7 separate regions of the Homo sapiens genome follow, and all the other regions are linked to region 5. The links are contacts of gene promoters, found by promoter capture Hi-C in blood cells and fetal thymus (Javierre and others, 2016). All regions are on one chromosome and are shown on one strand. Each heading gives the region's core, a stretch centred on a gene start or on the middle of the fragment in contact. The rest is flanking DNA. Distances are from core to core; before and after follow the strand shown.

Region 1 (3,208 bases), core at 309-2,808, 1.7 Mb after region 5:
GTAAATTAAGATCCTATTTGGCTCCTTGTACTCCTTGCATCTGTTCTCTGCTGGTTAAAACTCAGATTGGAGGAGGGTTAAGTAATTAGCACCCTAAACCATCAATTACATAAAACAAAGAGCACCCTAACTCTACAAAGAAATCTGTAACTCTTACTATCTTCAAATATGTTTTCTCATTCAAAATAAACAAATAATATTGAAACCTTCTAAGATCAGAATACCTTGTGGCAATATGCCCATTTCGGATTAGCCAGTTGACTAATTCCTTTCCTACAATGCAGTTGGGATGCGTTCTCAACCAGTAGCGGTGATCCTGAAACTCCATTCCACTGCTGTGATGGCAGATTTTTTTCCACAGGTCTTTTAACTGCACACTGTCCTGCAATCACATTAACAGCAAGTAGTTACCCTTGAGAAAAATGCTATATACCTTTTCAGATGTTTTCCTGTGATTTTTAGACTCATAAAAGGAAACCTAACTTGGATTTCTTTATGGTAGCTAACTCACACAATTTAATACAAATGTCATATACGTGGGAACAGCTTGAACTCTGCTCATCTAATTCCAAACATAACTTTTTCTCTTGAAAACCAACTATTCCAAATACTTCTTTTTTCAGTCAATGGCACATATTATCAATCTCCTATTTATGTATTCTTCTTTGGAGATGGGGCAAGGCAGAGGGAGACAACAGTTAATCACACTAACCTAAGGTAACTGTTCCTAGAGGCTTTCACTCCACCAGATTCTCACTGTGTACCCAACTGACAGATGAGTTTTTTAAAAAGAAGAGCTTCAGTAAATTACTCCCTGCTCAAAAAAATTCTGAATGTTCCTCAGCAACTAAAGTTTCAAATCTACACCTGTAAGTACAGAATTCATTGCCTTCCACCAGGTAGTCCCAAATAACTTTCCTTTCTCATTGCCCCCAGACTCCTACTTAAACTCTCTCCCAATTAAAAAATCCTACTTCTGGCCATGGAAAATGTCATGCTTATTCTTACCTCTGTATCTTTCTTCACACCTTTAAATAAGATTCACCTTCCTCACTGCCTATCCAAAATGATTCCATCTCTCAAGGTCCAGTTCAAGTCCTTCAGTTTAAGCCTTTTTCTGATTCCCTCATTAGTAATGAGCTTTCTGTTTTTTTGAATTCTTACATGACATATAGTCATTTATTTATTTGACACTTTTTTATTATTAAAGTATTACTACTTCCACTATTAAGGATCTTCCCACTGATCTTATTTCTACCTTTTGTGGGTTTGCTGGTTTGTTTGTTGTCTTAGAGACAAGGTCTTGCTATGTTGCCCAGGCTGGAGTGCAGTGGCTATTCACAGCCATGATCACAGCACCCTACAGCCTCAAACCCCTGGCCTCAAGAGTCCTCTCACCCTAGCCTCCCAAGTAGCTGGGACTACACGTGCATGCCACCACACCTGGCTCTTATTTCTACTTTTGAATTATAAGCTTGAGGACACAGCCATACCTTCCATTTCTCTGAGTCACTCTTAGAATTGAACACAGTATTTTATGCACAGATAAATTCAATAAGCAACTGATTATTTCATATAAACATATAGTATTAAATGTCTGAAAAGTGTTACATGTGTATAACAAACATGCTTCAAAGCTTAAATAGCAATATGGGATCTAAGAGTTAAGCTCTCTTATTACATAGGTAACTGAATTCTGATTTTACCAGATAAAAGGGTAAAGAAAATACTGGCCAGGCGCGGTGGCTCACGCCTGTAATCCCAGCACTTTGTGAGGCCAAGGCAGGGAGATCACGAGGTCAGGAGATTGAGACCATCCTGACCAACACTGTGAAACCCCGTCTCTACTAAAAATACAAAAATTAGCTCAGTGTGGTGGCACATGCCTGTAGTCCCAGCTACTCAGGAGGCTGAGGCAGGAGAATCGCTGGAACCTGGGAGGCGGAGGTTGCAGTGAGCCGAGATTGCGCCACTGCACTCCAGCCTGGTGACAGAGCGAGACTCCATCTCCAAAAAAAATAATAATAATAAAGAAAGAAAGAAAAGAAAATATTAATGCAATGAGTATAGAATACTTGACCCATCTCTCAGGTGATCCTAGTAAAACTGAAGCTAAGCACTTCTGTTTAACTGATATGCTATTTCACTTATATATTTCTTATTAAAAAGACTCAGTGACAGGCTGGGTGCAGTGGCTCACACCTGTAATCCCAGCACTCTGGGAGCCAAGGCGGGCAGATCACTTGAGGTCAGGAGTTTGAGACCAGCCTAGCCAACAGGGCGAAACCATGTCTCTACTAAAAATACAAAAAATTAGGTGTAGTGGCATGCGCCTGTAATCCCAGCTACTCAGGAGACTAAGGCACCAGAATCGCTTGAATCTGAGAGGCAGAGGTTGCAGGGAGCCAAGATCACACCACTGCACCCCAGCCTGGGCAGCACACCAAGACCGTGTCTCAAAAAGAAAAAAAAAGACTCAGTCACATGAACATTCTCTATGCTCAAAACTAGCAATGGGTCAAAGATACTGGACCAGTACCAGAAGAATTTTGCGTTCATCCTCAGTGGTCTCTGTCCTAACATATGTTCGGTTAGCCTGGGGACTGACAGATGTCTCATATGAAGGTACCATAGGAGAACCAGATCTATCCAGTGACAGGTTAGTAATGCTGGCTGATCTGGAAATAAAAACAAGAAGTGAAATCACAGGTGTAAATTCTTCTTCAATAAACAGAATTACAGAGAAAATTCATTTTTAAATAAATGCTTATTTACCAATGTTAAGGGTACTTTTAAAAGTACTTATGATGGTTATGCATGATATTATCATTGGGAGAAATTTGGTAAAGGATACCCAGAAACTCTCTGTACGATATTTGCAACCCTATGTAAGTCTATATTTTGCAATTCTATGTGTGTCTAAAATTACTTGGAAATAAGTTTAAAAGAAAGTAGTTATGGAAAGATTACAGGAAAACAATTACATAGTTCATATATCAGTAATATTTCAAAGGGAATAGATACAAAGTCTTCTTGTTAAAATGCTGTAAGTTAGTGGATTTTTTTTTTAATAACAAATATAAAGAATGAAATTAAATGCAGAAATAATCTTGCAGATCAGAGTCAGGAAACTATGGCCCACAGGCCAAATCTAGCCTTCTTCCTCTTTCTGTATAGCCCATGAACTAAGAAGGTTTTATAGTTAAAT
Region 2 (3,482 bases), core at 505-3,004, 1.7 Mb after region 5:
ACAGGCGTGAGCCACCGTGCCCGGCCAACCTTTCTTTTTAAATGATATAGATTAGACACAATTTTTCCTTTCTAATTTATATAGAAGTAGCATTGTTGCCAGTGATTGTACAAGCTCCTCTCTGTTGGGCAGTCAGCATATCTAGGACACAATTTTGGAGTGCAACAGAGGCTACACTGCTAACTTGTAAATGGCAGGCTTCCCAGTCTGTATAGTGGCACCAGATGCTTGTTCATTACTTTGGAATGCTTAGGATTGTTCTTTCTACATCGTACATTGCCAGGCTTTGGAAAAGCATTCTCATTACTGAGAACTTAGGGTTGCAATACATAAGTGCGTTGTCTATGATGTCTCATCAGGTGCATCTACATGGCATTAATTTATATATAAAAGAACCCCAGTTGTAATGTGGCTAGCATTCAAAGTGGGATATCTGGTAAGGGAAGGCACCAGATATCCAACTTCACATTTCTCTGACCACTTAGGTGGGAACCTTTTATATATCTTATTGCTACATAAAAATGAGACCAGGCCAGGCACAGTGGCTCACGCTTGTAATCCCAGCACTTTGGGAGGCCGAGGCTGGCGGATCACTTGAGGTGAAGACCAGCCTGGCCAACATGGAGAAATCCTGTCTCTACTAAAACTACAAAAATAAGCCGGGCATGGTGGTGGGCACCTGTACTCCCAGCTACTCGGGAGACTGAGGCAGGAGAATCGCTTGAACCGGAAGGTGGAGGGTGCAGTGAGCTGAGATTGTGCCACTGCCCTCCAGCCTGGGTAACAGAGTGAGATTCCTTCTAAAAAAAAAAAAAAAGAGAGAGAGACCAGTGTTGTTTACAGACAAGGTCATAGTGGTGGAACCTGTGAACAACCAAGTTGGAATTCTGTGTCTTTCACAACCCTTATCATCAATCATGTTGGCATCTGCACATCTTCACTTCCAATGTGCTTCTGTTAGGCTATGAGGGTAAAACAGGTTGTGAAACACCTGGCAGAGAAACCCTTTAATTTAGCCTTGGTTACTATAGAAATGTATTTTATTTATTGACCAAGTTAAGGTCCATCCATCCAACTATAGTCATGGGTGCTGGTCAAGCCAACTAGGGGAACACTTGAGCTATTCCATATCCCACTACTTTTTCCTACAAACCAGGAATATTATCCTGTAATCTGACATTCACTCACATTGAAATACTTAGTTATAATCCAAGTAACAATGACAGTGGAGGGTTGTTTAGTGCCATCTGTGAAGCCAAATCACAGAATTTGATTGCAATACATTTTTGAAATGTTACCCAGAAAAGGTCCAGTACTGTATTTATTTTCAATGTAGAGAGATTTCCTTCCAATAGTCTTACTTGGGTAAAGCACTGACCTTGAGCTTCCATGGAGGCTTCCCAGTGCCAAATTAATCTACCAGAGGAGGAGACAGAGTGACTTTGTCTTCCTGCTTATGGATACCATATGCTTTTATATATCCATTGTCCAGAATGGGTTCACCAGGTATATTTACATTGGTAGGAACAAAAACTCTTCTGCATTATGTAGATGTTAACCTAACCAGTAACCAGATTAACTATTTAAGGTGGCCAGGCTTTGAAAGATTGGAACAAGCAGGTGTTGGGGTAGTGCCAGAATTGTCAAAAAACAAAAAACAAAAACAAAAAAAAAACAGTTAAGGGTTAGTTGAGGCAAGATCCACTTTGAAAGGGATACCAATGTAGAGGAACAGCATGGAGAACAGAGAGGTGAATGGTGGGGCAGTATAAGAATACTTGCTTTGTCAATTAGGATGGCAGCTAAGTCTATTGCATATAAGCATGGAGGAATGCCTGATGCTACTTAACATGAGAAAGGTACTGTGGGACATATCTAGGTTGACATGAGAAATATGTTATGGGACAAAAAGATTGTCCTAAGATACCCACAACAATCCCATCATTTTCACAGTAATATAGGTAAAAAAGATTGTCAAAGTTGGGTAGTCGAAGGGCTGGGGTGTGGACAATGCTTCCAAGGAGGCTGGTGCCTCAGAGTACCAGGTAAAGTGCTCTGTGGTTGTATCTAAGAGGACAGCATATAAAGGTTAGACATGGGCAGCAAAATTGGGAATCCATTGGCAATATCCAGTTGCTCCTAAAAATTCACGTAATTGTTTGTCTTTGAGAGATAATGAATAAAATTGATTCAAGGCATTTTGGGACGAGTTTTTGAGTACCCTAAAATATTTTATGGCCTAAGTAGGTAAGAATTTTTTGTACCTGTTGGCATTTGGACCTGGAAGATTTATAACCTTAGTCAGTCAGTGCCTTAAGGTGAGTAAGGGAGTCCAGAAGAGCACCCTGTTTGCTTTGGTTGCAAAGTAGCAGGTCATCAACATATTGGAAACAAAGGGAACCTTGAGTGATTGTCATAGAGTCTAATTTGACTTTGAGAACTTAGAAAAATATTGAGAGGTATTCACAATATCCTGGAGGTATGCAAGTCCATGTTAACTGTTTCTTCTTAAATTTGAGGCTGGGCACAGTGGCTCATGCCTGTAATCCTAGCACTTTGGGAGGCCAAGGCAGGCAGATCACCTGAGGTCAGGAGTTCAAGATCAGCCTGGCCAATATGGTGAAAACCCATCTCTACTAAAAACACAAAAATTAGCCAGAAATCGCTTGAGTCTGGGAGGCGGAGGTTGCAGTGAGCCGAGATTGTGCCACTGCACTTCAGCCTGGGTGACAGTGACTCTGTCTCAAAAAAAAAAAAAAAAAAGAAAGAGAAAAAAATAAAAACTTTAGCTGAATTAAATTTGAAGGAGTGAAGCCAGGTGCAGTGGCTCACATCTGTAATCTCAGCACTTTGGGAGGCTGAGGTCAGGAGTTCGAGACCAGCCTGGCCAACATGGCGAAACCCTGTCTCTACTAAAAATAGAAAAATTAGCTGGGCATGGTGGCATGTGCCTGTAATCTCAGCTACTCAGGAGGCTGAGGCAGGAGAATCGCTTGAACCCAGGAGGCAGAGGCTGCAGTGAGCAGAGACTGCACCATTGCACTCCAACTTGGGCAACAAGGGTGAAACTCAATCTCAAAAAAAAAAAAAATTAAAGAAGTTTAATTGAGCCATGAATGATTCAAAATCAGGCAGCCTCCTGAGCCAGAATAGACTCTGAGACTCCAGCACACCTACGCCATGGAAGATGATTTATGGACAGAAAAAGGAAAGTGACATACAGAAAACAGAAGTGAGGTACAGAAACAGTTGGCTTGGTTACAGCTGAGCATTTCCCTTATTTGAATACAGTTCAAACAGTTGGCTACATTTGATTGGCCAAAACTTGGTAAATGGCACAAGTGTAAGCTACGGTCTGGTTATATTCCACTTGTTACAGTTCACGATGTACAGAAAAACCTTTAAGCCGAACTTAAAATATGTAAGAAAGCAGCTTCATGCTAAACTTTATTTCACAAGAGGAAGTGTGAATCAAGGTACAA
Region 3 (3,157 bases), core at 619-3,118, 1.8 Mb after region 5:
CTCTTTAGCAGCTTAACAACGCTTTAAAATATAAATTAGGACTCTTTCCTGAGTGGTAATCAGTCCTATTAACCTACCTACCCAAAGCCTTCTGATATATCACCAATACTTCACCATTTCTAATTAAGGCTACTAATATATGCAGACCTACTACAAACTATCAGAAGCCAGTCAGTAAAGGCCGGACGTGGCTGCTCACACCTGTGATCCCAGCACTTTGGGAGGCCGAGGCAGGAGAATCCCTTGAGCCTGGGAGGCGGAGACTGCAGTAAGCCGAGATCACACCACTTCACTCCAGCCTGGGCGAGGGAGGGAGACCCCCGCCCGGTGGCTCACGCCTGTAATCCCAGCACCTTGGGAGGCCGAGGCGGGTGAATCGCCTGAGGTCAGGAATTCAAAACCAGCTTCGCTAACATGGTGAAACCCCGTCTCCCCTAAAAATACAAAAATTAGCCGAGTGTGGTGTCGCGCGCCTGCAATCTAGCTACTCAGGAGGCTGAGGCAGGAGAATCGCCTGAACCCTGGGAGGCGGAGGTTGCAGTCGGAGGAGATCGCGCCACTGCACTCCAACCTGGGGGACAGAGCGAGACTCTGTCTCTCAAAAAAAAAAAAAAAAAAAACTGGCAATGTAATAATTTAGGAAAGCTGAATATTGGAAATGTTAGCTTCTATCAACAAAGATTTCTTGTTCAATTTTTGACCAACACGCTTAAAGGAAAACCAGAGCAGGATCCAGAAAGCAGAAAAAGGGAGAACACAGGAAATTAGCCTTGCTCCACAGAAGAGATTTAACCTACACAATCTTTGTCACAAACACAAAAGAAAGAACATTTTTTGTAAGAAAACTGACAGAGTGGGAGTTTTGGAGTGCCAAAAAAGGGGCTCAAATAAATCAGAAATAAGTACATTATACCAAGCGACTACCTCTATTGTCAACACTGGACATATTTTACAACACAGGATGCACTGCGTCAATAGTAGATAATGAATCATGTATACACATCAGATACACACGAATAACTTGCTTTATACAGAATTCTAGCACTTCTTATATTTCTTGACTGTCTTAGGAATAACCTCTGATTGGGCAGAAAACCCCTAAGTCCTAAAAGTTTCCAACACATTCCATTCTCATCCTTTTGTTGGGAACATTCTAAGCAAAGGGTAAACACTAATTGGGAAATAATGCTCCTCCTCAAGAAACTCCAAAACCTAAGTTGAAATGGAATCGTCTCAAATAGCAGAGGCAAGCATTTAAAAAGACAAACACTTATTTGAACCCCCACGGTTGGTATCGTTTCTGCAGCTCATGAACTTTCTTTTCCAGCCTACGGATGCGCCTCTGACAAACTCAGAACTCATGCACTCAGAGGGAAAAGTAACTGTACTCTTCCCCTCCTAATTAAGTTCAGGCGTAAGGGTCGAGAGAGAGGCAAAGGAACTTCAAATGTTTCCAAGGAAATCTCAAGGGCCCCACCCGGCTTCCGTCCCCACTCGCCAGACAAGGCAGCCGGGGAATAGGGAGGACAAGCTAATTCTAAAGCCAGATTCTCTGCCCTTCCTTGCTCAGCCGGCAGCCAGGCCCTAGCCCCCGACTGCGGAGCCCTGGTTCTCACTTTCACCTCAGCTCTGGCCCTGGAGCTCCCCATACCGGCCTCCTTCCCATGCTGAGCCCCAGCCGGCCAAGCTCCAGGCCCCCTCCCTTACCTGCGCCTCCTGCCCCGGCCGCGCCGGCTGCCCCCCGCCCCAGCCTCCGCTTCAACGGCTCAGCCCCCGGAAGTCGGCCCCCGAGAGCGGCGGTGGGCTCCTCAGGCCGCGGACGGTTGCGGCAGGAAGCGAAGCTGCTTACATGGTTGATGCGGCTTCTCGCTTCCCCCCCCCAAGACTCCGCCCTCTGTTTTCCTGTCCCCCAGTCCGAAATCTTTCCCGGGGGCCGGCTCCTCCCAGCCCGGCCGACGCTCGGATCAGATGCTCAGGCAGAAGGAGTCCAGCCCAGATCGAGTCGTCCTGATCTTTTGGCCGAGATTAGGCCGCTTCAGCCTTCCTGGAAGAAGCCAGGGGGACTGCGCGCGTGAGCGTCACGCATGCGGGGTCAACGGATGGGTGCTTGGTGCTCTGGGCACTGCAGGGGTGCTGGCTGGACTGCGGTTACCGTATGTGTTCGATACTGTGGGCACTCATAATATGTTATTGCTTTGTTGTAGACAGTTCACTCGTGTAGCACTGAACCGGAGTTAGCGATGACTCTGTTTCCAGACTTGCATGACTCCACCAATAACCAGCCATATGATCTTAAGCAAATTGCTCATTTATTTAGGCCTTAGACCTCTGGTGTGTAAAGTCGGATTAATAAAAGGACTCACTTCTTAATACTTTTTTGAGATTAAGTAAATGCACTTAAAGCGAATGGCACAGTTCCCTGACCCAGAGTAAGTGATGTCGGCTTTATAGTTAATTTTTTCATTTAGGTGTTGTGTTGCAAATGCTGATGCAAATAAAGTTACCAAGCCCAAGCCCTATCTTGTTCAGCTTGGCTAGAGTTATTCGTCATTTCTGTCCTGCTGAGAGCGCAGTGCAGTTAACTGCAGAAAACATGCTCGCCGCAGTTGTGGGGCTTGGTAGGGGAGGATGGAAAGCAGACGAAACCTAAAGGGAAATGCAGTTTTAAATTCTGTGAGTCCTTTTCCTCAAGAGTTTTGTCAAATCCCAGCCCAGTTTTCCTGGAGTTGGAAAGCACCATCGAAACCTGCAGGTTGAGTCCAGTGCAAATCCCAGTCACCATCCTCAGCTGGGCCCTTCAGCAATCTTTCTGGGAGTCTGTAGTCAGCTTCTCCCATTCCTTATTACTGCTGCGTCAGACCACCACCACGACCCCCACATTACCTTGACCATCATTCTCATCAGAGAATCATATTTTATACCCACGTGAAAAATCCCAAGGTATCTGGGCGTGACCCTTAACAAGCTAATTCCCCACACACCACAACATTTACCTACATCCACATCTGCCCTGGTCTGCCTTTCTCCCTCATCTCTCTGAGGAAGGGGCCTCTTCTTCCCCAGCTCAATCCTTTTGGCCCCCAATTCACCCTCTCCTGTCTGGGAGCTTGCACCGTATCTGCAACCTCCCCTTTTCCAATGACTCTGCCTCCTCAGC
Region 4 (3,625 bases), core at 713-3,212, 1.8 Mb after region 5:
TCAAAGCATCTTTAGTTATAGAGCAGGAAGGCAGCGGCAACCTCACACATTTTTCTCATCTATATCACAAGGAATAAGCTTTAGCTTGCAGGGCCTCAGGAGGAAGGTAGTAGTGATTTTGAATTTACTCAGAAAAATGGAAGAAAAATTTGAAAACAGTTTGGGGACTTGTAACCCAGAAAGAATTTAGGAGTCAGTCCAAATTTTGAACAATAATAAAAACCCAAAAAACAATGGTCAAGACTAGAATCTAACAACACGTGTACTATAGTTTTTTGTAGTATAATTTTTTCTCTCTGAAGTCTCTCATTTTTATAAAAGATAAATCGTGGTAGGACCAATTTGTTTGCAAAATAAGTTTTAGTCTTATTATATTTTGCCTGATTTTTGCATAAAGGGCAGCAAGAATAATTATCTGCCATATAGGCTCTTTGTAAATAGGCTTTGATGGAACTTTGTTACATAAATAATCTCAGATTAGGTTTTTTAAGGTCTTGAGCCCAGCCACAGATTTATCTGTGCCAACAAACGCCTTTATGAGTTGGGTGAATTCCTCTCCTCTCGAGGTCCCAAGGTAACTTGGGGCTCCTGGGCCTGTCAGAAAGTGACATTTTTACTTACCACAAGTCAAGAACCCTGTACAGGGACTGCATAGACAAGGTGTGAGGCCAGTTTTCCCAAGGGGCTTTTATTGGCTCTATAAGTCAACTTTGACTCCTTAAAGCAGTCTGTTTATATTTGAAAGCATGCCACAGACTCCGTTTTGGGAAAAAATTCTGTTTTCCTCATGGAACCCCAGGAATTTTTTTTTTTTTTTTCTTGAGACAGAGTCTTGCTCTGTCGCCCAGGCTGGAGTGCAGTGGCACAATTTTGGCGGAATCTCGGCTCACTGCAAGCTCCGCCTCCCGGGTTCACGCCATTCTCCTGCCCCAGCCTCCTGAGTAGCTGGGACTACAGGCACCCGCCACCATGCCTGGCTAATTTTTTGTATTTTTAGTAGAGACGGGGTTTCACCGTGTTCGCCAGGATGGTCACGATCTCCTGACCTCGTGATCCGCCCGCCAAAGTGCTGGGATTACAGGCGTGAGGCACGGCGCTGGGCCGGAACCCCAGGAATTCTAAGTAGATAGATTCCTCTCAAAATCTAAGGCTTTGCTCTGTTTTGCATTGCATTATCTGATCTCTTTGACTTTTGGGTTCAAGAGAAGGGATGACAAGGTGGGTTACAAAGGACATGACTTGCCAGGCATGCTGCATGTCTGGGGCACCCACACAACAGAAGACTGCAATCAGGCTACCAAGCCAGAGGTCTCACAGCCACTTCCCCACCTGTCTAAAATAACGAACATAGGAAAGGACAGAGGAGCCAAAATCAAAGGGGAAAAAAAAGTAGCAAGTTGAAATTGGACAAAGGGAGACTCACCCACCCATCAGGTCTGAATGGTGCCAATTGGTTTTAGTCTGGGTTTCAGGGGGAGGTCTCCATTGTCCCTTCATTTGTTGTCAGAAAGGATGTCACAGGCTGAACACCAAAGGCCCTGTGATATTTGCCTTCGCACATTAAGGAATTCAAGAGCAAGCCAACAGAGTAAAGTGAAAGTAAAGGAATAAAAGGGTGGCTACTCCATAGGCAGAGCTGCTGGTTGGCTATTTTTATGTTTTTTTATGTTTTATGTTTTTGTGGGTTTTTTATGTTTATTTTTATGTTTTTTAAAAATCATATGCTAAACAAGGGATGGATTATTCATTAGTTTTTTGGGAAAGGGGTGGGCAATTCCTGGAACTGAGGGAATTCCTCCTGCTTTCAGACCATATAGGGTAACTTCCAGGCGTTGCCATGACATTTGTAAACTTTCACGGTGCTGGTGGGAGTATCTTTTAGCATATTAATATATTATAATGAGCATATAATGAGCAGTGAGGACAACTAGAGGTCATTTTCATCGCCATCTGGTTTTGGCGGGTTTTGACTGGCTTCTTTACTACATATCATTTTATCAGCCGGGTCTTTGTGATCTGTACCTTGTAAAACCAGTCCTGCCCAACTCCTGACTCACTGGCATGGCATCGGGATAGGCACACTGCCATCACTACCTCCATCAATGTGAGTCTTAGCAATGACCAGCCCCTGATAGACCACTGCACACGTGGACCTTCTATTTGCCTTCAAGGACTGAAGCTGGGAAGGTGACTATTGGGATCGATGAACACTTGGCTGAGTTGGACCAGCTGCAGCAGCCTCAGCTGGGGGCAGGGGTAAGGGAGTTAACAGGGATGAACAAGCCTAGCAAGGTCAAGGTTGAAGTTCTCCAAGGTTGCCTTTGGGTGAAAAGCTCTCTTGATCAAGAAATTGTGGAACACCTTATAATGAGGTATCAACAATAGGGAGTCAAAAAGAAAAATAACTCAGTTTATTTTCTGTTTTTTTGGTTTGTTTGTTTGTTTGTTTGTTTGTTTGTTTGTTTTTGAGACAGGGCCTCACTCTTTCACCCAGGCTGGAGTGGAGGGGTGTAATCACAGCTTACTACAGCCTCAGCCTCCTGGGTTCAAGCAATCCCCCCACCTCAGCCTGCTGAGTAGCTTGGACTGTAGGGACACACCACAATGCCCAGCTAGTTTTTATCATTTTTTGTAGAGACAGGATTTTGCCATGTTGCTCAGTCTGATCTTGAACTCTTAGGCTCAGGCAATCTACCCACCTCAGCTTCCTAAAGTGCTGGGATGACAGGCATGAGCTACCACACCCAGCCTACAGTTTAGTTTTAATTATAAACAAAATATTAGAATAAATTGAAAATGGCTGGGCGTGGTGGCTTATGCCTGTCATCCCAGCACTTTGGGAGGCCAAGGCAGATGGATCATTTGAGCCCAGGAGTTTGAGACCAGCCAGGGCAACATAGTGAGACCTCATTGCTACAAAAAAAAAAATTAATTAAAAAATAAAAAATTGTCTGGGTGCGGTGGCTCACGCCTGTAATCCCAGCACTTTGGGAGGCCGAGGCGGGCAGATCACCTGAGGTCGGGAGTTCAAGACCAGCCTCATCAACATGGAGAAACCCTGTCTCTACTAAAAATACAAAGTTAGCCGGGCGTGGTGGCGCATGCCTGTAATCCCAGCTACTCCAGAGGCTGAGGCAGGAGAATCGCTTGAATCCGGGAGGCGGAGGTTGTGGTGAGCCAAGATCACACCATTGCACTCCAGCCTGGGCAACAAGAGCAAAACTCCATCTCAAAAAAATGAATAAATAAATAAATAAATAAAAGTAAACAGTCATAGTAGAGGAGAGACTGAATTATTTTTTAATTCTCTCTATAGAAAATACTATGAAACCTTGGTCCTATTAACAGATAATCAAAGAGTATGTAAGAAAAAAAGGAATTTTAGTGTATGTTAGGCAGTTAGTAATCATGAAAATATTAATACTGATTTTTTGTTTGTGGTATTTTTCAGCTCTTTAAAATTTGTAACTTGTAATTAATAGTTCTAAATAAACATACAATTTTGTATTAGTTTCATATTTACAATTCTGCATTCTTTTTATTAAAGACGGTCCCCATAATGTATAAACTTCAGGCTCACCAAACCCGGAAGTGTCTAGGTACAATATAAACTCAATATGGAGTG
Region 5 (3,610 bases), core at 1,111-3,610:
TTTGCCATCTTGAAACCAGACACTCCTTGTCAGCTGGTAGGCCATGCCCTTTATTTCAGTGTGAGTTTGGCACTTCAGCTTACATATTTCTTTTTCCACTCCTTTCCACATCTCCAAACCTTTCAAAAAAAGAAGCCAATTTGGTTGTTAGACCAAGGCTGGAAATAAGGGGGTTCAGATATACAATCATGATAACGCTAACATTTACTGCACACTTATCACATCAGACACTTTTACTTACTACTACAGGAATAAACTCATGTAATCATTATCCAAGGTCGCTGCTATTATCCCTATTTTACAGATGATGCAACTAAGGCATCAGAGATATTAAATGATTCTGGTTCTTGCTCGCACAGTCTAGTCTGACCATGTTGAATCTTACTTGGTCCCAACTTATTTCCAGATTTAAAGGTAAGCAAGAACTTAAAGATTCTGATCGCCAAGATTTATATATCTGAGCCAATCCTCACTCTATCAAGTTTCTGTAATTTGGAAGACTTTGAGAACAGATCATCTTCCCTTTTCATCCCCCTCAAAAAAATGGAGAAAATATAAGAAACTGGAAATTCCTGGGGATGTTTTTAGTTGGAGTTGTGTGTCTTGGTATTTATGTTTATCTGTAATTTTGAACTGGTATCTTAAAATTCTGCAGTTACAAATAAAAACAGATTGACATGTTCACTGTCTGTGTTAAGGAACTAAAACTTAATATTTCCTTTTCATTTGTTTTAGTACATAGTACTCTGAATCAATGGAGAAATGGATATTCACCTATATGTAAGCCTCAAATAAGGTCAGAATCTTCTGCACAACTGTTACAGGGAAGAAAGAAAAGACATTTGAGTGAAACAGCATTAGGTAGGTTAAAGTGAGGATATAAGCAGTAGTGATAAATATTAAAAATTAAAAATTCTGATTTTAAAATAACCTCTCATGGGAGTTTATAATCCAGAACAGCCACTAATAACACAAAACATCTATGAGTCTACAAACATGAAACAGCATATTCGTAGTTAATTTAGAATTATTTGTGGACTGGTATCTACCCACTTTATGGCAATTAAGTATTTCCCTCCTATGTTCCCTGACTAGTTGTCTTCTACCAATCAGTCCCTGGATGGGATTTAATCTTCAAAGTTGTGTTCTATGCTCAAAATAGGCTAGTGCAAAGTTGCCTTACAGAAACTGTTAACCATTTATGGTACCTACTGTGGAGATGTTGATGCACTGCAGATTCCTCAGGATTTTGAGAAAGTCAACAAGATTCAACTTATATATATATATAAAGCTTTAAAAACATCTAATAAGATGCAACATGAAGTATACATTACCTAAGATATAAAATGTTTCACTTAAATTGACTGACACTTTAGATCTAACTTCAAGTTTGATGTACATACAGGAATAAAATAAAGAAATGTCATACTACAAATAAATAACTAGACAATTCCAAAAGGGTAGGACATCTGGTCCAGCCTGTCAAAAGTCAATGTAATGAAAAATGATTTATTCTAGACTATAAGAAACCTAGGAGACAATGGCCAATTTTTATATATAGATCCTTATCTGAAGAAACTAGCTATAAAGGACTTTTTTTTAACAAATGGAGATATTTAAATATGGACTGGGTATTAGATTTTATATTATGCAGGAAATATTCTCATTTTAAAACACTTGTACTAAAATAAGGGCAGTAAGTAAACGCATACATATATATATTTACTACACACACACACACACACAGTAACTGGGAACCAAAACAGGAAAAAAAAAAAAAAAGAACTTGGAAGATATACAGAAAATACTAACAGAAGTAAACTTCTAATCAATATCCTGAGAGATATGAGAAATTTCATCTATGAAACAAGAACAGGATGCTGTTTTAAAAAAAGAGTACCAGAGAACAAGTACTTTCGGAAACATGTACTTATAATAGCAGAATTTTTTCAAAAAATTAAGAGTGTTCAGAAGACCAAGGACAGATACCTCACATAAATTAGGATAAAAAGTCAGATATGAAAAATGAGATTAGATAAGAAAATTAAGATAGTTCTGGTGGTTCAACTATGAATAGGAGTCACAGGAAACAAGAATAAAGGGATGAGATGAGGGATTATTCAGGGAACAATAAGAAATATATTCGATAAAAACTGCCAAAGCCCCAGAAAATGGAAATAACTTGTGGCATGACTGCAAGTAAGGCTCCTCTTTTTTCATTTCCTTTTTTGTTTTCTAATACACGAATTTAAACACACACACACAAAACAAGGAATCAATCACCTGTCATCTAATTAGGAAAGTAATTCTAATGATATTAGACTTGTTTAATGTGTAACATTCAATGGTTCTTTCCATGGCAGGAGAAAGAACTAAACTTGAAGAATCTGATTTTCAACACACAGAATCAGGATCCCATAGCAATTTTACTGCTGTTTCCAATGTCAACGTTTTATCAAGAATCCAGAATTCATCACGAGTAGGTTTTTCCATATGTTGAACTCTAAAATAGCTTTAAAAATAAAAACACCTGATTTTGAAAATAATTTATATTTTGCTAATCTATAACAGCCTTACTAGCACATATTAACAGACATTTATAACTATCTTGTTAGAAAACAATATATTTGATTCATACAACTTATTTTTAACTATGAAGCTAAAAGTTCATTAATATTTGGTTATAGCTTCTTTTTATGTGTTAAAAATTTAAACATTATCATGATCATCTCTATTCCTTAACATATTAAGCTAAATAAAGTCTTACTAATGAGAATTCAGGACTTTCTTGTTCTTGTCCTGTTTTTTGTTTGTTTGTTTGTTTTTTTGTTATCTGGCCAGGGAATAGAGAGGTCAAAAGGTGGGAGGGTTTAGAAATGAATTCCGAAACTCAGGAACCAGGAATGCATAAATGAAGAGTATACTGAAGGGCTGACCAAAAATGTTTCACTGCCTTTCCTAATAAAAAGTGGTTACTGATCATTTTCATTGACATTTAGGGTGATGTATGTTGGTCTTTTCTGATAAAGAGTTTTGCATTTAAGACCTATTTTTTGTGGTCTTAAAAATAAGCTTGTATGCTTGCACACATAAATACACATTACACATCTACCAAGAGATTGTTCTGATTTACAAAAGATAGAAAAATGTTTTATTTTTTGGTTTTCTTAACATTTTTTAGTCAGACTTTATAACAATGTATTTACAAAAATTATGTAACGTGTACTGCCATATTTACATAACTGATGAAAGGAGGGTATCATTACAAGTAACTAGACAGTACTGTAAATCTACTGTAATCCTGTTTTGCAGAATACTGCACGACGGAGATTGAGAAGTGAGAGCTCTTATGACATAGATAACATTGTGATTCCCATGTCATTAGTAGCCCCAGCTAAATTAGAGAAACTCCAATATAAGGAAATACTTACTCCAAGGTATGTATACTTACATCTTCATATTTTTCTTCCTTCCTTCCCTAATAAACTTAAATTTTCAAAGTGAAGAATTTTAATTAATGAAAGGAGCATCCTTCTCCCAGTTCCTTCATAGCCATGGAGGGGAAACGGTGAAAAAAAAATTACTCGTGCCTTAAGTGTTATATAGTATC
Region 6 (3,196 bases), core at 1-2,500, 1.7 Mb after region 5:
ATCCTGAGGGACTGTTTAAGTTCTTTTGCTATATTTGAGCTTTGTTGTCTCAATTATTGGCTGAAATATGAGTGCCACTATCTGAATCCTAGAAATTTTTATGATGATAAATGCTGTAATAAAACTGAAGTACAAGCATATAGAAAATGATAACATAACTAAATTAAAATAGTTTCTACTCAATCATGAATCACCTATTTGTTGGAAGCCCTTCTTCGGCACTGTTCCACTGAGTCGCTTTAGACAATTCCTCTAAGGCATTTCGGTATTCTTTACAACTTAGGGCAGAAATAGGTTGAAAAACGTTAAACATTAACTTCTTCTTTAAAAGTAAATCATAAGCTTTAGAGTAAGTTTTGCATTATAGAAGCACAATCATTATACGTTTCCATAATTAAATAATTTTGGTTAACTGACAAAAGCAATCAAGTAGAAGCTTCATGAGGAAGGTCAATGTCTTCATAGAAGGTAATACAAAATATGACCCACTGACTCATCAACCAGTATCAATACCCTCAACAAAGATTTTAAAAGCCTACTTACTAATATTTAGATCAAATGACTTCAGGGATTGAACAGGTAAAAGTTTGAAGCCTCAGTGTTGAGTACAATAGAGAAAAAAAGAACTTGAGAGTGCTTTTCTACTTAACATACTAAACTTTAAGGGGAAAAAAATGTTTAATGTTCTATTAACCAAAAAGAAAAAAAAAAAACCTGACTCTTAGGTTAGCAGTTTAGGAACCCTGCTTTAGATAAATGTCATGCAACAAGAGAGGCATGTTAGGATGTATTGTTTTTCTAAGACATTGAAAAAAGATGATCTCAGCTAGAATCCTTACTTCCTAATAGTACAAAAAATACTTTTGATTTGGTTGACTCTCTTACCTTTCTTACCTATTAATATATTATGACTATTAAATAAAGTGAGAAGCTTATATTATGTTCACAAAGGCCAAAGGCAAAGGCTAAAAATGTTATCATATGGAATCTTATAAAGGAAAAAAATTCCTCATTATCTACACAGTAAACTCTAAACTGCATAAAGGCAGAGGCATGTAAATCTATCTTATTTACTCCTGTACATCCAATATCTAGTATATCACATTTTGTAAACATTCAAATATTTGTTGAATAAATGGACTCCCTGGAACCACCATCTAACAAGAAAAATTAAAAACTGTAATGCCTTCCAGTGGGAAAAAATTGCTTTAAACATCTTAGATTCTATTTAAACTAAGTTCAGCTACCACCAAGATGTTCTTAAGATTTAAGGCTGGGTGCGGTGGCTCACGCCTGTAAGCCCGGCACTTTGGGAGGCCGAGGCGGGTGGATCACGAGGTCAGGAGATGGAGACCATCCCGGCCAACATGGTGAAATCCTGTCTCTACTTAAAATACAAAAAAAATTAGCCGGGCATGGTGGCGGGCTACTTGGGAGGCTGAGGCAGGAGAACGGCGTGAAACCCGGAGGCGGAGCTTGCAGTGAGCCGAGATCACACCACTGCACTCCAGCCTGGGCAACTGAGAAAGACTCTGTCTCAAAAAAAAAAAAAAAAGTTTAAAAGCTTTGCCCTTTTAGACATACTATATATTTTTACAGTGGATATAGCTTTAAGATATATGATAACTGTATAAACTAAAAAGTCAGAAATGTCTACGGAATAAGGCATAAGAACAGCATTGCAGTAGTCCCTCCTCATCCATAGTTTCACTTTCCATGGTTTCAATTACCCACAGTCAACTGCAGTCCAAAAACATTAACATATTTAGAAAGAGAGACAGCACATTCACATAACTTTTGTTGTAGTATATTATTATAAAACTGTCCTATCTTATTGTTGTTGTTCATCTCTTACTGTGGCTAGGCTAATTTATAAATTTAACTTTATCATAGGTATGTATGTACAGGAAAAAACATAGCATTTATAGGGTTCAGTACTATCTGTAGGTTCGGACATCCACAGGGGTTCTTAGAACATATCCTCAATGGGTAAGAGGTGACTGCTGTTTTCTAAGTAGAAAAATTTTACCTCGTATGTAGGGTAGTAGAAAATGAGTGAATGGTACAAAAAAGATATTCAGATTGTACAAGGCAGGATGCTCCAAGTACTATGTCAACAAGTAAACTGAGAGAAGGGATACAAGGGAAAACATATTTTAACAGAATGGATAGAGGATTCAAGGCTCAGTAAATAACTTGCCAAGTCAATTTAGTTATTAGGAGCTTACTTAGGAATCATCCTATACTTCATTATTTGGGTTCAGAGAAGATTTTTATGCACAAAAAGAACAAGCTGCCAGGCATGGTGGCTCACGCCTGTAATTCCAGCACTTTGGGAGGCCGAGGTGGGTGGATCACCTGAGGTCAGGAGTTCAAGACCAGCCCAACCATTATGGTGAAACCCCATCTCTACTAAAAATACAAAAATTAGCTGGGCATGGTGGTGTGTGTCTGTAGTCCCAGCTACTCGGGAGGCTGAGGCAGGAGAACTGCTTGAACCCAGGAGGCAGAGGTTGCAGTGAGCCGAGATTGCACCACTGCACTCCAGCCTGGGCAACAGAGTGACATTCTGTCTCAAAAAAAAAAAAAAAAAAGAACAAGCTATCACGACTAAAGAACATATATTTTTGCTTATATTTAATCATTTTGCTTTATGTGAAAGATTCCAAAAATAAGGGATTAATAGACATACATAAAATACATAGATATCATCATAAGTCAAAGTCCCATGAATAATACCTGAGAGCAAAAGCAATGATGGAGCTGGGTTCCTTCTCGCAGACTGCAATGGGCACTCGTTCATGTTCATACATTAAGTAGTGTTTATCTGGATCACTATGCAAATTTTTAAAATACATAAGTTAACTAAGTACTCTAGAGTTAAGAATATAATTAAGAAAGCCAAAATGTATGCAGATATGATAACCTGAATCATTAGGAAAGAAAAAGATTTCAAGAGAAAGTTTTTGAAGGCAATTAGAAAATTATCAGAATTAATTAGGTTTCAAATCAGAGAGTTCTGCAATAGTCACTCCAAACAAACCTTTCCATACTGCCAAGACTCTGGCCACACTAATCTCAAAAAGAATTTAAAATGAACAGCAGAAGTCTAAAATATTTTGTTCCATTACAAGCTAGAGAGAAAAAGTCTTCTAGAAATTGTGGAGAAGACATACTACTAGTTCAATAATAAACA
Region 7 (3,521 bases), core at 721-3,220, 1.7 Mb after region 5:
AACATAAGAATTACCATGCCCCAGAGACATTTCATGAGACCACAAATTATGATTACCTATTAAATGTATGGTACTTACAATGAAGTATGAAAGGAGGTAATGTTCTTTGTTGTTATGAAACAGGTTTTAATAAAACAAGTTTAGACTTGCCACACTAAAGCATCTTTTTCACTCCCAATCCACTAGTGTCTTATGAAACTAATGAGGATGCATAAACTATAATATTAATTTAGTAAAACTGATCTGAGTTAAGAAGAGGTAAAGGTTTCCTTTACAAAGGCTTAAGCCCTGTCAGCACAAGGTGGGACTCTGGTCTCCTACTCTCTTGTCCATGCCTTTACTGAGCATGGAAAACAGCAGTTCTTGCTAAAGTGCCAGTTTCTAACTTTTTATCTAACCTATAAATGCTCACAAGACAGTTTGGCTATATAACTGTTGAAATCCACATCTTATTCAAGCCTTGACCTATATATAAACTCCCAGAGATAATTCCCATGGGTTCTGCCACTCCCAAGTCTTCCTGCTGAAGCTATACTACTAGAAGAACCCATGAGCTCACTGCTGGAAATAAGTGTTTCAGTTATCCAAAATTAAAACACAGAATATGTTCTGGCATGGAGACAGTGCCCCCAAACAAGAAGTTATGTTCCATAGTACTTTTAAAACTAAAGGTGAACATGTAATGTAAGGCTATGTATGTCTGTGTGAGGTTTTTGTGACAATAATTTGAAAAAAATAATTTAAAACATAAAATGTATTTCAGTTTCTATCAATCTACTTAAGTTTTAGACTAAAACCCATTAATAAAGCAAAAGGTTGACTGCTTTTATAAAAATTATGCCTGAAGGAAAACCTGCCTAAATTGTACATGCTATCATCAAAATGCTTATAAACAAGCTTTTTGTGTGTCAACTTTCTCACATTTTTAAGTACAGGTTGGGCATCCCTAATCTGAAAATCCAAAATCCAAAATGCTCCAAAATCTGAAACTTTTGAGTCCTGATATGGTACCACAAGAGGGAAATTCCACAACTGAAACCTTTGCTTTCTGGTGGTTCAATGTATACAAACTTTGTTTTATACATAAAATTATTACAAATCTTATATAAAATTAACTTCAGGCTACGTGTACAAGGTGTATATGAAACACAAATGAATTTCATGTTTAGACTTGGGTCCCATCCCCAAGATAACTCATTAAGTATATGCAAGTATTTCCAAATTTGAAAAAATATTAAATCCAAAACACTTCTGGTCCCAAGCATTTCAGATAAGGGAAAGTCAACCAATACAAATTCCTCTTCTATCCCTCACACTTTTTTCACTCTTAATATACTCTCATTTACTTCTACTCATGAACAAACATGTATTTTCATATTTACTTCACAAGTTTAAAAGTTCTATCAATTCATATATGACCAGCAGTGTGCTGTGTACCTAAATACAGGTCCTAATGACTGTTTTTTTGTTTTTGTTTTTTTTTAATTGCTGGAATTCTGTTCTTATGTGGAATAGTGTAGGGGGAAAAGAATCCTACCAAGGACTGACACAGGCACTAGGAGCATTGCTGGACTGGGCAGAAGAGCTGCTGAAGAGCACACAAAGTCTCTGGTGATTAATGGGATTCAGACAGTCCACCTGAAATAGAAGGAATGAATGGATGAGCAAGTGACTGCAACCGCATTCAACCCCAATGCACCAAACACACTCCACTCTATTTGTAAAGCCTCCAATTATCACTGTGGGGGCTCTGGTCAAGATTTAAAACTACAGAAAACTAAATATAAGGAAGGGCAGTTGGTTTTTGAGAAAAGACAACCCAAAAAGTTTCAATTAAACTTAAAAATACAAAACAATGTCTAGATAGCTTGTTTTCTTAACTTACTCTTTATTTTACACAACTGCACTAAATTATTTTGGAAAAAAATTAATTAAATATACCCATATTTAACAGTCTGAACTGATGGGATATAACATCAATCTGAGACACCCAGAAATCTAAATTCTAAAGTGTTTATTTATCTATGCTTATGGCTGTTTTTGATCATTACAAAGGTAAAACCAGCTCTCTGTTAAAATTGAAACAGTATAGAAGCATATGAAGAAGTTCATAAAATACACAAAACTGCTCCTCCTGATTCTACTCCACCTCCTAAGCTGCGGAGTTTGACTCTGTGGTTTTAAAATATCTATTCTTTTTGCTAGTTTACATACCTGTCCCACATACACACATCACTTCCTAAGTACAAACAGGGGGTTTTGTTTTTATAAATATGGAATAATGCAACACATATTAAAACATAATTTGCTTTTTAACACTTCAAATATATCATGGGCTTTATCCAAGTCATTAAATGACTTGAGATCCTGCTCATCCTTAAACTGTTTCAATAAACATCTTTGTACATATATTCTTAAAAAATGCAAGCACCCTTATATAAGCATACTTAATTATTTCTGCAGGATAGATTATAAAAAGTTGGAGTCCTGGGTCAAAGGTATATACATGTATGTGTAAATTAATGGAGACTTTCCTATCACTTTCTATAAATTTATACAAATGTACATATACCTACATTTGTATAAACTTACATAAAATTTATGAAAGGTGTTTTTCCATGCCATCATTAACCATGGGTCTTTTACGACTTTCCTTTTTGTCAATCTGACAAATAAAAAATTATTTAGCACCACTATTATTTAGCACTTCCTTGACTACTAGTGAAATTGAACATACATTATTTAGCACTTCCTTGACTACTGGCGAAATTGGACATCTTCTCGTTTTATTAAACAATTGCATTTCCTCATCTAGCAATGGATTTGTTAATTAGTTTTATTGCTACCATTATCAATAATGGATCTATAAACCTTCCTTAATTTGCTCTCAATTTATGCCTAAAAAGAAAAAGATCACTGTCATAGTTAAATAACAAGGTAAAATGTTTTATGTTAAAAAAAGAGCTAACTTTTTTTGAGAAAACAAATATATTTGCTGCTAACTTTTTTAAAAAAACACATCTATTTCCTACAATAAGCTTCCATCTCTCACTCCCTGACACAAGGATCCAGGATTATCATACCACATCCAAGTCATGTTGTCAGAAATTTTAAGCAGCTCCACATTTCCCCTTACTTCAGGGATCTTCCTAGCTTATTATAAGCTCACCTTAAAACCCTGAAACCCAGTTTCATTACAATTCTGCTTCATACATATTAAAGTAACACATAAGCCAGCAGACTCAAGACAAAAACAAAAATAGCATAGGAGAAGAAATATTTCACAAATCTGCATGCAGTCTGCCAAACTGATTTTTTTAGCCTGCCTTTGAGGAGTCATTCAACACATCCTAAATGCACAGGAGCATCAGAAAGTGGTCTGGCTCACCTTTGTTGACCACACAGCATCACTCAGAATAAGCCCTCTCTCTTCATCACCCTCATTTTTGCTTCCTGATTGGCCACTTGAAGTACTTGATGCATCCTTTGAATGAGCAAAAGGGTCTGAATTTTTGGGCTGA

The links. Contacts are between HindIII fragments. The CHiCAGO score rates a contact against its expected background, and 5 or more counts as called.
Region 1: a contact is called between a fragment that was not itself captured here and the fragment with the promoter of KANSL1L-AS1 in region 5, in 4 of 17 cell types (M2 macrophages, fetal thymus, M1 macrophages and 1 more). The highest score is 9.2, in M2 macrophages.
Region 2: a contact is called between a fragment that was not itself captured here and the fragment with the promoter of KANSL1L-AS1 in region 5, in 4 of 17 cell types (M2 macrophages, M0 macrophages, M1 macrophages and 1 more). The highest score is 18.4, in M2 macrophages.
Region 3: a contact is called between the fragment with the promoter of PIKFYVE here and the fragment with the promoter of KANSL1L-AS1 in region 5, in 9 of 17 cell types (M1 macrophages, M2 macrophages, total CD4 T cells and 6 more). The highest score is 9.6, in M1 macrophages.
Region 4: a contact is called between a fragment that was not itself captured here and the fragment with the promoter of KANSL1L-AS1 in region 5, in 1 of 17 cell types (neutrophils). The highest score is 5.2, in neutrophils.
Region 6: a fragment that was not itself captured here is called in contact with the fragment with the promoter of KANSL1L-AS1 in region 5 in 2 of 17 cell types (M2 macrophages and M1 macrophages); the score reaches 7.8 in M2 macrophages.
Region 7: a fragment that was not itself captured here is called in contact with the fragment with the promoter of KANSL1L-AS1 in region 5 in 3 of 17 cell types (M1 macrophages, M0 macrophages and M2 macrophages); the score reaches 10.2 in M1 macrophages.

Annotation. Positions count from the first base shown.
Region 1 is chr2:208,298,111-208,301,318 of GRCh38, reverse strand. PIKFYVE (phosphoinositide kinase, FYVE-type zinc finger containing) reads right to left here. Exons shown (of 42, transcript NM_015040.4): 8 at 2,540-2,678; 9 at 225-382. Among named protein-coding and RNA genes, the nearest start is that of PIKFYVE, 33 kb to the right of the region's middle. The HindIII fragment of the contact is 163 bases long and covers 1,477-1,639 here.
Region 2 is chr2:208,366,706-208,370,187 of GRCh38, reverse strand. It overlaps a transcript of PTH2R not described here. Among named protein-coding and RNA genes, the nearest start is that of PTH2R, 38 kb to the left of the region's middle. The HindIII fragment of the contact is 6,349 bases long and covers 1-3,482 here.
Region 3 is chr2:208,264,966-208,268,122 of GRCh38, reverse strand. It overlaps PIKFYVE (phosphoinositide kinase, FYVE-type zinc finger containing), which reads right to left and starts at 1,868. Exons shown (of 42, transcript NM_015040.4): 1 at 1,708-1,868. RefSeq lists a silencer at 1,582-1,851 and an enhancer at 1,982-2,031. The HindIII fragment of the contact is 8,601 bases long and covers 1-3,157 here.
Region 4 is chr2:208,191,252-208,194,876 of GRCh38, reverse strand. No RefSeq gene overlaps it. Among named protein-coding and RNA genes, the nearest start is that of C2orf80, 3.0 kb to the right of the region's middle. The HindIII fragment of the contact is 3,764 bases long and covers 81-3,625 here.
Region 5 is chr2:210,028,672-210,032,281 of GRCh38, reverse strand. KANSL1L-AS1 (KANSL1L antisense RNA 1) reads right to left here and starts at 2,360. Exons shown (of 5, transcript NR_110291.1): 1 at 2,284-2,360; 2 at 775-815; 3 at 1-119. KANSL1L (KAT8 regulatory NSL complex subunit 1 like) reads left to right here. Exons shown (of 15, transcript NM_152519.4): 9 at 736-861; 10 at 2,364-2,479; 11 at 3,313-3,437. The HindIII fragment of the contact is 1,781 bases long and covers 1,294-3,074 here.
Region 6 is chr2:208,342,193-208,345,388 of GRCh38, reverse strand. It overlaps PIKFYVE (phosphoinositide kinase, FYVE-type zinc finger containing), which reads right to left. Exons shown (of 42, transcript NM_015040.4): 32 at 2,740-2,835; 33 at 195-278. Among named protein-coding and RNA genes, the nearest start is that of PTH2R, 63 kb to the left of the region's middle. The HindIII fragment of the contact is 633 bases long and covers 934-1,566 here.
Region 7 is chr2:208,326,297-208,329,817 of GRCh38, reverse strand. PIKFYVE (phosphoinositide kinase, FYVE-type zinc finger containing) reads right to left here. Exons shown (of 42, transcript NM_015040.4): 20 at 3,389-3,521; 21 at 1,538-1,638. Among named protein-coding and RNA genes, the nearest start is that of PIKFYVE, 62 kb to the right of the region's middle. The HindIII fragment of the contact is 2,141 bases long and covers 900-3,040 here.